3 separate regions of the Homo sapiens genome follow, and regions 1 and 3 are each linked to region 2. Evidence: promoter capture Hi-C in human tissues and cell types (Jung and others, 2019). All regions are on one chromosome and are shown on one strand. The core of a region is centred on a gene start or on the middle of the fragment in contact, and the rest is flanking DNA. Distances in the headings are between cores, read along the strand shown.

Region 1 (3,178 bases), core at 621-3,120, 300 kb after region 2:
ACGAACAACTCCAGACGCACTACCTTAAGAGCTGTAACACTCACTGCGAAGGTCCGCAGCTGCATTCCTGAGCCAGCGAGACCACAAACCCACCAGAAGGAAGAAACTTCGAACGCATCCGAACATCAGAAGGAACAAACTCCAGACACGCCGCCTTTAGGAACTGTAACACTCAACCGCGAGGGTCCGCGGCTTCATTCTTGAAGTCAGTGAGACCAAGAACCCACCAATTCCGGACACACTGGGATTACAGGTGTGAACCACAACACCTGGCTCTCTTTGTTCCTAATTGAAATTGCCAAAGGTTTGTCTGTTTTACTAGGCTTTTGTTTCTTTGTATATATATATTTTTTATTTTACTAGTCTTTTTAAAGAAACCACCCTTGTTTGGCTCTGTTGCTTCTCTTTATTGTGTTTTTAATTTCTGCTATTATTTCATTTATTTTAATTTCTTTAAGTGTAGTCTCTTTTATTAGTGCTGTTTTTGTTATTTTTGGGTTTGTGTGTGTGTGTGTGTGTATTTTTTTGGAGATAGTCTGACTGTCACCGAGGCTGGAGTGTAGTGGTATAATTGCAGCTTACTACTGCCTCAATGTCCCACGTTCAAATGTTCTTCCCACCTCAGCCTCCCTAGTAGCTGGATCTACAGATGTATGTCACCACACCCAGCTAATTTTTTTAAAAATTATTTTCTGTAGAGACAGGGTGTTGCCCAGGCTGGTCTCAAACTCCTGGGCTCAAACAGAGACTATGTTGCCCAGGCTGGTCTCAAACTCCTGGGCTCAAGTGATCCTCCCACCTCGGCCTCCCAAAGTGCTGGAATTACAGGCATTAGCCACACACCCAGCCTTTACTTTTTATTTCTTCTTTTTCATCTTTTCCTGCTTTTATTTCTTCTTTTTCTGCCTTTCTTTTAGTTCAGTTTTTAAAATTCCATTAATTTTTTTCTACTGGTTTGAGGCTATACATTCCAGTTCTAATTTTTTAATGGTTATCCTTAAAATTTTAACATGCTTTTTTTTTTTTTTTTTTTTTTTTTTGAGACGGAGTCTTCCTCTTGTTGCCCAGGCTGGAGTGCAATGGTGTGATCTCGGCTCACCACAACCTCCGCCTCCCAGGTTCAAGCGATTATCCTGCCTCAGCCACCCAAGTAGCTGGGATTACAGGCATGCACCACCTTGCCCAGCTAATTTTGTATTTTTAGTAGAGACAGGGTTTCTCCATGTTGGTCAGGCAGATCTTGAACTCCCAACCTCAGGTGATCCGCCCACCTCGGCCTCCCAGAGTGCTGGGATTACAGGCGTGAGCCACCGCGCCCAGCCTTAACATGCATATTTAACAAAGTTCATCAATATGTCCACTCTCTTCCCAAACAGCCATCTTTGCTTTACATGTCATTGTCCAATATTGTAGTTCAGACCAGCTTTTTTGCCTCATATATTAACATAATTAGCATTGTTTAACAGTCTATGTCTGTTTAGATTTAGCCACATACTTTGTGATTTCTTTGCTCCACATGTTTTCTTGCATTTCAAACCCTTTTTTTTTTTTTTTAAGACAGGGTCTTGCTCTGTTGCCCAGGCTAGATTACAGTGGTGTGATCAGAGCTCACTGCCTCCTTCACCTCTTGGGCTCAAGCGATCCTACCACCTCAGCTTCCTGAGTAGCTGGGACTACAGGCACACCCCACCATGCCCGGCTAATTTTTTCCTATTTTTTGTAGAAATGGAGTCTCACTATATTGCCCAGGCTGGTCTTGAACTCCTGGGCTCAGGAGATCCTTCCACCTCAGCTTCCCAAAGTGCTGGGATTACAGGCACGAACTCATATCCAGCTGAATTTCCTTTAATGAAGGAATGTTAGTGGCAAATTCTCTAAGTTATTTGCCTAAAATTGTTTTTACAAGGTAGGAGGATTGCTTGCACCCAAGACCAGCCTGGGCAACAAAGTTGAGACCCTGTCTCTACCAAAAAAAAAAAGCTGGGCATGGTGGCACATTCATGTCGTCCCAGCTACTTGTGAGGCAGGAGTGGGAGAATTGCTATGATCATGCCAGGAGTTCCAGCCTGGGCAACAGAGTGAGACCCTGTCTCTAAATAAATAAATAAATAAATTTGCTTCACCTCATTCTGCAAGATAATTTTGCTGAGAATAGAATTCTAGAATATCAATTTTCTCCCCTCTCTGAACACATTAAAATACTATATTACTGTATTTGGGCATCATTGATGTCAAGAAATCAGCTATCAGTCTAATTACTTTTCCTATGAGATGATTTGTCTTTTCTTTCTGACTGCTTTTACAATTTTTTTTTTCTTGAGTGTTCTATTTTAGAAAAATAGGTCTAGGTGAGAATTTCTGTTTATTTAATCTGCATTGAATTGTTGGGCTTCCTGGATTGGCATATTCCAGTGTTTTGCAACCTACTGGAAAAATGTCAGCTATTATTTCTTCAAATACTGCTTTTTTCCAGTTGTATCTCTTATCTTCTCCATCCACCTTGCCACTTAACCTCTGTTTTATATTTTCTATGTCTTTGACTCAATGAACTGCACTCTGGATAATTTATTCAGATCTATTTTCCAGTTCATTAACTCTCATATCAGTTGTGTCTAATCAATTTAACTCACCCGTTGCATTTTTATTTTTATTTTTTATTTTATTTATTTTTTTAAGACAGTCTCACTCTGTCGCTCAGGCTGGAGCGCAGTGGGGTGATCTTGGCTCACTGCAACCTCCGCCTCCTGGGTTCAAGCGATTCTCCTGCCTCAGCCTCCCGAGTAGCTGGGATTACAGGCGTGTGCCACCAAGCCCAGCTAACTTGTGTATTTTTAGTAGAGACGGGGTTTCACCATGTTGGCCAGGCTGGTCACCCATTGCATTTTTAAAATCAATCTTTTATTTCTAAAAGTTATGTTTGTTTCCTCTTCAAATCTACTTGGTCATTTTTATGCTCTTATTTCTTTCTTTCTTTCTTTTTTTTTTTTTTTTTGAGACAGAGTCTCGCTCTGTGGCCCAGGCTGGAGTGCAGTGGCATGATCTCAGCTCACTGCAACCTCTGCCTCCCAGGTTCAAGTGATTCTTCTGCCTCAGCCTCCCGAGTAGCTGGGATTACAGGTGCCCACCACCACGCCTGGCTAATTTTTTGTATTTTTAGTAGAGACGGGGTTTCACCATG
Region 2 (2,998 bases), core at 281-2,780:
CCTGCGTGGTACCACCTTACTCCCAGCTCTTCTCATCTCCTGCTTAGAGTAAGAGCTCTCTAACTAGTAGCAGTGCCCCAGGCCAGGCGCGGTGGCTCACGCCTGTAATCCCAGCACTTTGGGAGGCTGAGGCGGGTAGATCACGAGGTCAGGAGTTCGAGACCAGCCTGGCCAACATGGTGAAACCCCGTCTCTACTAAAAATACAAAAATTAGCCAGGCGTGGAATCCTAGCTACTCGGGAGGCTGAGGCAGGAGAATCGCTTGAACCTGGGAGGCGGAGGTTGCAGTGAGCCAAGATAGCGCCACTGCACTGCAGCCTGGGCAACAAGAGCGAAACTCTGTCTTAAAAAAAAAACAATAGTAGGCGGGGTGCGGTGGCTCACGCCTGTAATCCCAACACTTTGGGAGGCCGAGGCGGGCGGATCACGAGGTCAGGAGATGGAGACCATCCTGGCTAACACGGTGAAACCTCGTCTCTACTAAAAATACAAAAAATTAGCCAGGCGTGGTGGCGGGCGCCTGTAGTCCCAGCTACTCGGGAGGCTGAGGCAGGAGAATGGCGTGAACCCGGGAGGCGGAGCTTGTAGCCTGGGCGACAGAGCGAGACTCTGTCTCAAAAACAAACAAAAAACAACAACACAACAGTGCCCCAGACTCTCTCCCTCCAATGTACACTGCATACAAAGACTAGACAAACGATGCCAAAGGTTACACCAGGACGACAATGAAGTCCAAGTCACTCATCTTGGCGCTTCTTTTTATCAAGCTAGCTAGTTAATATTACCACTTACAATCATTCTCCGAGTCCAGCCAGCTTCCTCAGAAATCCTCCCCAAATGCAGTTCACATTCTTCCCTCACTCCTCCAAACCTTATAACATTATTCCCTTTTCCTGTGGCATAATGCAATCCAGAGGCATCCTCTCTGAGAGCCTACATCCTTTCAATCCTCCAAGAAACAGCTCCTCCTCCCATCCTTGAGCTTTTCCCACCCAGAATAGGCTGTACCAAACATTTCTACATTGTATTAACTCGAATTATATCACAGATCGAGGTCTTCGCTTTCAGAAAAGACTCACATTCTTCTCATATAGGCCTCGCATGGCCTGGCCAAGTACTTCCTAAGCTCGGAACAAATACTGGTCAACTTTAATTGAACCAAATCGGGCGGGGTTTGCGGAGTCTGAGAGTGCAACGTTGGGGAGAGGGGGATGAAAACACTGGAGGACGGGCTGAAAGCGTCGAGTCCGACACAAAAGAGGCGTCAGACAAAACGCCAAGAGGCTGGGGACTGGGAACGAAGGAAGAGGTTCTGCCAGAGGCGACCTGCCACCTGCGCGAGGAAGCGGAGTAGGACGGCGGCCGTTGGTGGGCGTGGTCGCGCTAGTCTCGCGGGAGCGGCCGTTGGGCGGGCCGTTGTCCCTGCGGGCGGGGCGAGTTGCTAAGGAAATGACTGCCCGCAGCGCCTGGCCCCGCCGCGCAGGCCGGGCGGGGTCTGGAGCGGCGCCGTTTCCGCTTCCGCTCCCTCACAGCTCCCGTCCCGTTACCGCCTCCTGGCCGGCCTCGCGCCTTTCACCGGCACCTTGCGTCGGTCGCGCCGCGGGGCCTGCTCCTGCCGCGCGCACCCCCGGGGCTTCGGCTCCGGCACGGGTCGCGCCCAGCTTTCCTGCACCTGAGGCCGCCGGCCAGCCGCCGCCATGGGTGCCTACCTCTCCCAGCCCAACACGGTGAAGTGCTCCGGGGACGGGGTCGGCGCCCCGCGCCTGCCGCTGCCCTACGGCTTCTCCGCCATGCAAGGCTGGCGCGTCTCCATGGAGGTGAGGAGGCAGGGGCCCATAGGCTGGCCGCTGCGGGGCGGGAATCTGACGGAGAAAGAGAGCGGGGGATGGGGTCCTCCCCTGGGAAGGGTCCCAATTGGGAGCCTGCGGCCGCAGCGGCCGTTTGCGGGGCGACAGAGACCGCGGGGTCAGGGCCGAGAGGGAGCTCCCGATGCTTGGGGACCGTGTGCCGGTGGCCAGTGGCGGCGAGGGCTCGGCCATGTGGGAAGAGGCACCTTCCGCCCACTGACCGCCCTCTCCCCGAGCTTTGGCGCCATCCTCTCGTGCCAACCTAGCCCTCCAGGCTCATCAACGGTGTGAGGTTTAGTGTGGGAGTAAAGACGCAAATAGGGGCTATTTATTCATTTGTTTTTCAAGGGAGAGGTGAATAGATGTGAATAACTTTTTAAATTTTAATATTTAAAATATCTGATGTGGGAAGCCTCTTTTGGCTAGGAGTTTGACAGTGAAAGGAACCCCGGGCAGAGTCTGTTTCACATTTTGGTTGCCTGGCCTTGGGCTCTTGCATGTTAATTTCAGAGGCTGGACCCGACCTCCAGGAGTTGTCACTCATTTGCACTCTTTTCAGGGCCTTTTACTAACTTCGGAAAACTTGAATTATGTCAGTCCCTAGGTTTTCCTTTTTATTATGCTTCGTTTTCTTTCTCTCTTAGGATTTCTCTAAAACTTAATCAGTAATTCTCATTTGCCTGTAATTGTAGTTTATAGTTTCTTTGATTGTAAGTCATTTCATCAATTTTTTTCATCACAACCTACCTACAAAGGGCTTTTCTAGAAAATTTTACTCTGGACAAAAGGGGAAAAGAAAAATATTGGGGGGAAAGTAGTAGTATTAGGTAAAACTTGATGTGAAACTACAAAAGAGAAGAGGGAAAACTGCGGTAGGGAGGAAAGGGAGGAAGACGGGTTAACCGTGGCTTTGTGAAGAGCATTCTGAAGTCTAGGCAAAAGGGCCAGGGAAATACTCTGTCTGGTATTGAGGGTTTCTCCACCTACCGGGTGGGCTTCAGGTAACAGCGAAATACTGTCTCCCTTGGGAATTGTTTCAGATCCCTCGCTCCTCCCTGTGGTTAGCTCTGGAATGACAGTATGAACTTAAATGTTTTGTTTTCCGATTCAAATTTTATATTCATAACTGACCTTAATAACAATTTTATAA
Region 3 (3,364 bases), core at 688-3,187, 270 kb after region 2:
GGGAGGATCACTTGAGTCCAGGAGTTCAAGGTTGCAATGAGCTATATCATGCCATTGCACTCCAGCCTGGGTGACAGAGACCCTATCTCAAAAAAAAAAAAAAAAAAAAGAGGGCATGGTGTGGTTGCTCATGCCTATAATCCCAGCACTTTGGGAGGCCAAGGTGGGCATATCATTTAAGGTCAGGAGTTACGAGACCAGCCTGGCCAACATGGTGAAACTCCATCTCTACTAAAAATACAAAAATTAGCTGGGTGTGGTGGCGGGTGCCTGTAGTTCCAGCTACTCAGGAGGCTGAGGCAGGAGAATCACTTCAACCTGGGAGGTGGAGGGTGCAGTGAGCTGAGATCAGGCCACTGCACTCCAGACTGGGCAACAGAGCGAGACTCCGTCTCAAAAAATAAAAAAGACCCTGGAGGGTGGTGTCAAAGGAAACGGAGAGGCCAGAAAGAGCAGGTGCCATGTATCCAAGGAGGACAAGGGACCCACAAGGCCTGGGGACTTGAGATATGCAGAGAGCTTGGCCAGGCCCTTCACACATCTAATTCAACTCTGTGGGACAGATATTGGCATCCCCAAAGATGAAGCCACTGCGCTATTCCTCTGGGTGCACCTTAGGTTAATGAGAATGCAGGAGAGGGCGTCTCTTTGCAGGGAAGGACATCCCTTGTGCTCGCTCTCAGGAGTGCACAAAGGTCCTCATCAGATCAGAAACCCGAGGGAGAATGGAGTGTCAGGCGCAGAAGATACCTGCCCGGGAGCCAAACTGCCCCCTCTGAGGCCAGCAAAGCAGCTGGCCACCCACCAAGCCACCAGCCCAGGAGTGTGAAGCCTTGAGAAAGGGAATGGCAGACACCACCCCTGCCAAAAGTGGGCGATAGGCGTTAAGGATGACAGACGTGTCCTCATACGAGGAAGCAATGGATTCAGCATTTGAAGTCAGGTTTATTTTTAAGTTCATGCTGCCTCCGTTAAGAAGCAAGAGACTCCGGTGGTTTCTGGTGTGTGCCCTCGGGCAAATCACTTCCTCTCTGAGGTAAGATGCAAAGGCCTGTGCTCCTAGGAGTTGGCATATCACTCCTCAGATGGGAACAGTCCTTATTTGAGGATTTTATGTGTGTGAGAGACAGGGTCTAGCTCTGTTGCCCAGGGGCTGGAGTGCAGTGGTGACATCACTGGTGGTCCAGCGCAGCCTCGACCTCCCAGTCTCAAGTGATCCTCCCGCCTGAGCCTCCTGGGCACCTGGGCCCACAGGTGCCACGATGTTTGGCTAATTTTTAAATATTTCGTAGGGACGGATCCCCATGTTGCCCAGGCTGTCTCGAAAGCCTGGGCTCAAGCCATCCTCCTCTCTCGGACTTTCCGAAAGTGTTGGGATTACAGGAGGATTACAGGCATGAACCACCGTGCCTGGCAGAGGATTTTTTTTTTTTTGAGACGGAGTTTCACTCTTGTTGCTTGTTGCCCAGGCTGAAGAGCAATGGCAATGGCGCGATCTCGGCTCACTGCAACCTCTACTTCCCAGGTTCAAGTGATTCTCCTGCCTCAGGCTCCCGAGTAGCTGGGATTACAGGCGCACGCCACCACGCCCTTTGTATTTTTGGTAGAGACGGGGTTTCTCCATGTTGGTCAGGCTGGTCTCGAACTCCTGATCCGCCCGCCTAGGACTCACAAAGTGCTGGGATTACAGGCGCGAGTCGGATTTCTTTATTAAAGGTTGACCTTCATCAACCTCCATTGGCTCCACCTCCTCCGCCCGCGCCCCGCGCCCCGCACAAAAATGGCGAAGTCGGTGCTGGGCGACTCTGCCTCCGCGCCAGGGGTGGAGAACCGAAGCCCCGCCCCGGGAAACGCGGCCCCGCGGCCGGCTAGTGCTGACGCGTGTCGGCGCTCCTGCGCCTGCGCGGAGGGAGCCGCGAGACAGGTGCGCATGCGCAGTGCGCGTCTGCGAGACCGACTTGGACGGAGCCGAGCTGAGGCTCGGCTTCCTGCTGATGGTCAGGGTTTTGGCAACTCCCCGGTGTGAGAGGGGTAGGGAGTGCTCCCGGCGGCGACGGGGCCGAGTTCACCAGCCGCCGGGGCAGTAGTCGAAGGCCCGGCGCGGCATGTCCTGGGTGCCGCGGTGCGGGCAGTGAACGCGCGCCGGGCGGGATGGGCCGGCGCCGGGCGCCAGAGCTGTACCGGGCTCCGTTCCCGTTGTACGCGCTTCAGGTCGACCCCAGCACTGGGCTGCTCATCGCTGCGGGCGGAGGAGGCGCCGCCAAGACAGGCATAAAGAATGGCGTGGTGAGAGCGCAGGGCCACTGGGGCTGGGTCTTGCTGCGGGCTGGCGGCGATTCCAGGGTGGCCGGGGGGTCGCGGGGCGGGCCACACTCCAGCTTCGGGCCCTGCCCACTTCTGTTGGGAAGACCCGCTTGCCTGACGCCCAGGGGCGAATTTCAGTCGAGAACTCAGCGGGCGGAGGAGAGGCTTTTAAGGTAAAGTGAAAACTGCACACAGCTGCAGAGTCGCCAGGAACGCTTCAGCTCCGCCTCAGAGCAGCTCCAGGGGTCTTATACTGGCCTTTTCCGGGAGGTCTTGCCTGCCCTCTAGCAGCGGCGAGAGTGGTGCATTTGGGTTTAGGCTAAGTTCCTTCCCTCTCCTGAGCTTCACCCTGTTCTGTAAAATAGAGGTAATAATCCCAGTCCTGCTCACTGTGTAGATTTGTGAGGCCCAAATGAGAGAAAAAAGACTCGAGAAACCCTTGTGAACTAGAACGTGCAGAAAGCAAAGGGGTAAGACATCAGACTCTTCCCTAAACGTGCTCTCTGGGCACCCCTGAACTTGCTCATCCGGGTTCCCCCTCCCACAGCACTTTCTGCAGCTAGAGCTGATTAATGGGCGCTTGAGTGCCTCCTTGCTGCACTCCCATGACACAGAGACACGGGCCACCATGAACTTGGCACTGGCTGGTGACATCCTTGCTGCAGGGCAGGATGCCCACTGTCAGCTCCTGCGCTTCCAGGCACATCAACAGCAGGGCAACAAGGCAGAGAAGGCCGGTGAGGAGCTCCCTCTCTACCCCCTTGGGGAAAGGGTTGAACGAGTAAGGTCACTCTTGGTGTCTCTAAAGAAGTGGGTCTGGAAGTAGGGTTTTGGTAGCAAGCTAGAAGTTGTATGGGCACCTGCCATGGAGAGAGGGGCCAGTACTCCTTACTGTAGAAGCCTGGAACCTGGCCAAGTGTTTGTGTTACAGGTTCCAAGGAGCAGGGGCCTCGACAAAGGAAGGGAGCAGCCCCAGCAGAGAAGAAATGTGGAGCGGAAACCCAGCACGAGGGGCTAGAACTCAGGGTAGAGAATTTGCAGGCGGTGCAGACAGACTTTA

The links. The method cuts DNA at HindIII sites, captures the fragments that hold promoters and counts their contacts. A contact is called where the count stands out against the background at its distance.
Region 1: a fragment that was not itself captured here is called in contact with the fragment with the promoter of PPM1G in region 2 in 2 of the 25 tissues and cell types used here (lymphoblastoid cells and pancreas).
Region 3: a contact is called between the fragment with the promoter of PREB here and the fragment with the promoter of PPM1G in region 2, in 1 of the 25 tissues and cell types used here (adrenal gland).

What each region holds. Positions count from the first base shown.
Region 1 is chr2:27,107,748-27,110,925 of GRCh38, reverse strand. All of the region lies in intron 1 of CGREF1 (cell growth regulator with EF-hand domain 1), which reads left to right. All of the region lies in intron 1 of LOC124907744 (a long non-coding RNA gene), which reads right to left. Among named protein-coding and RNA genes, the nearest start is that of CGREF1, 9.8 kb to the left of the region's middle. The HindIII fragment of the contact is 5,398 bases long and covers 1-3,178 here.
Region 2 is chr2:27,408,123-27,411,120 of GRCh38, reverse strand. PPM1G (protein phosphatase, Mg2+/Mn2+ dependent 1G) reads left to right here and starts at 1,530. Exons shown (of 10, transcript NM_177983.3): 1 at 1,530-1,818. The coding sequence starts at 1,699. RefSeq lists silencers at 1,360-1,549, 1,640-1,829, 1,900-1,949, 1,970-2,049. The HindIII fragment of the contact is 26,119 bases long and covers 1-2,998 here.
Region 3 is chr2:27,133,209-27,136,572 of GRCh38, reverse strand. It overlaps PREB (prolactin regulatory element binding), which reads left to right and starts at 1,937. Exons shown (of 9, transcript NM_013388.6): 1 at 1,937-2,286; 2 at 2,852-3,041; 3 at 3,236-3,364. The coding sequence starts at 2,152. RefSeq lists enhancers at 1,999-2,048, 1,524-2,180 and a silencer at 2,119-2,218. The HindIII fragment of the contact is 4,836 bases long and covers 785-3,364 here.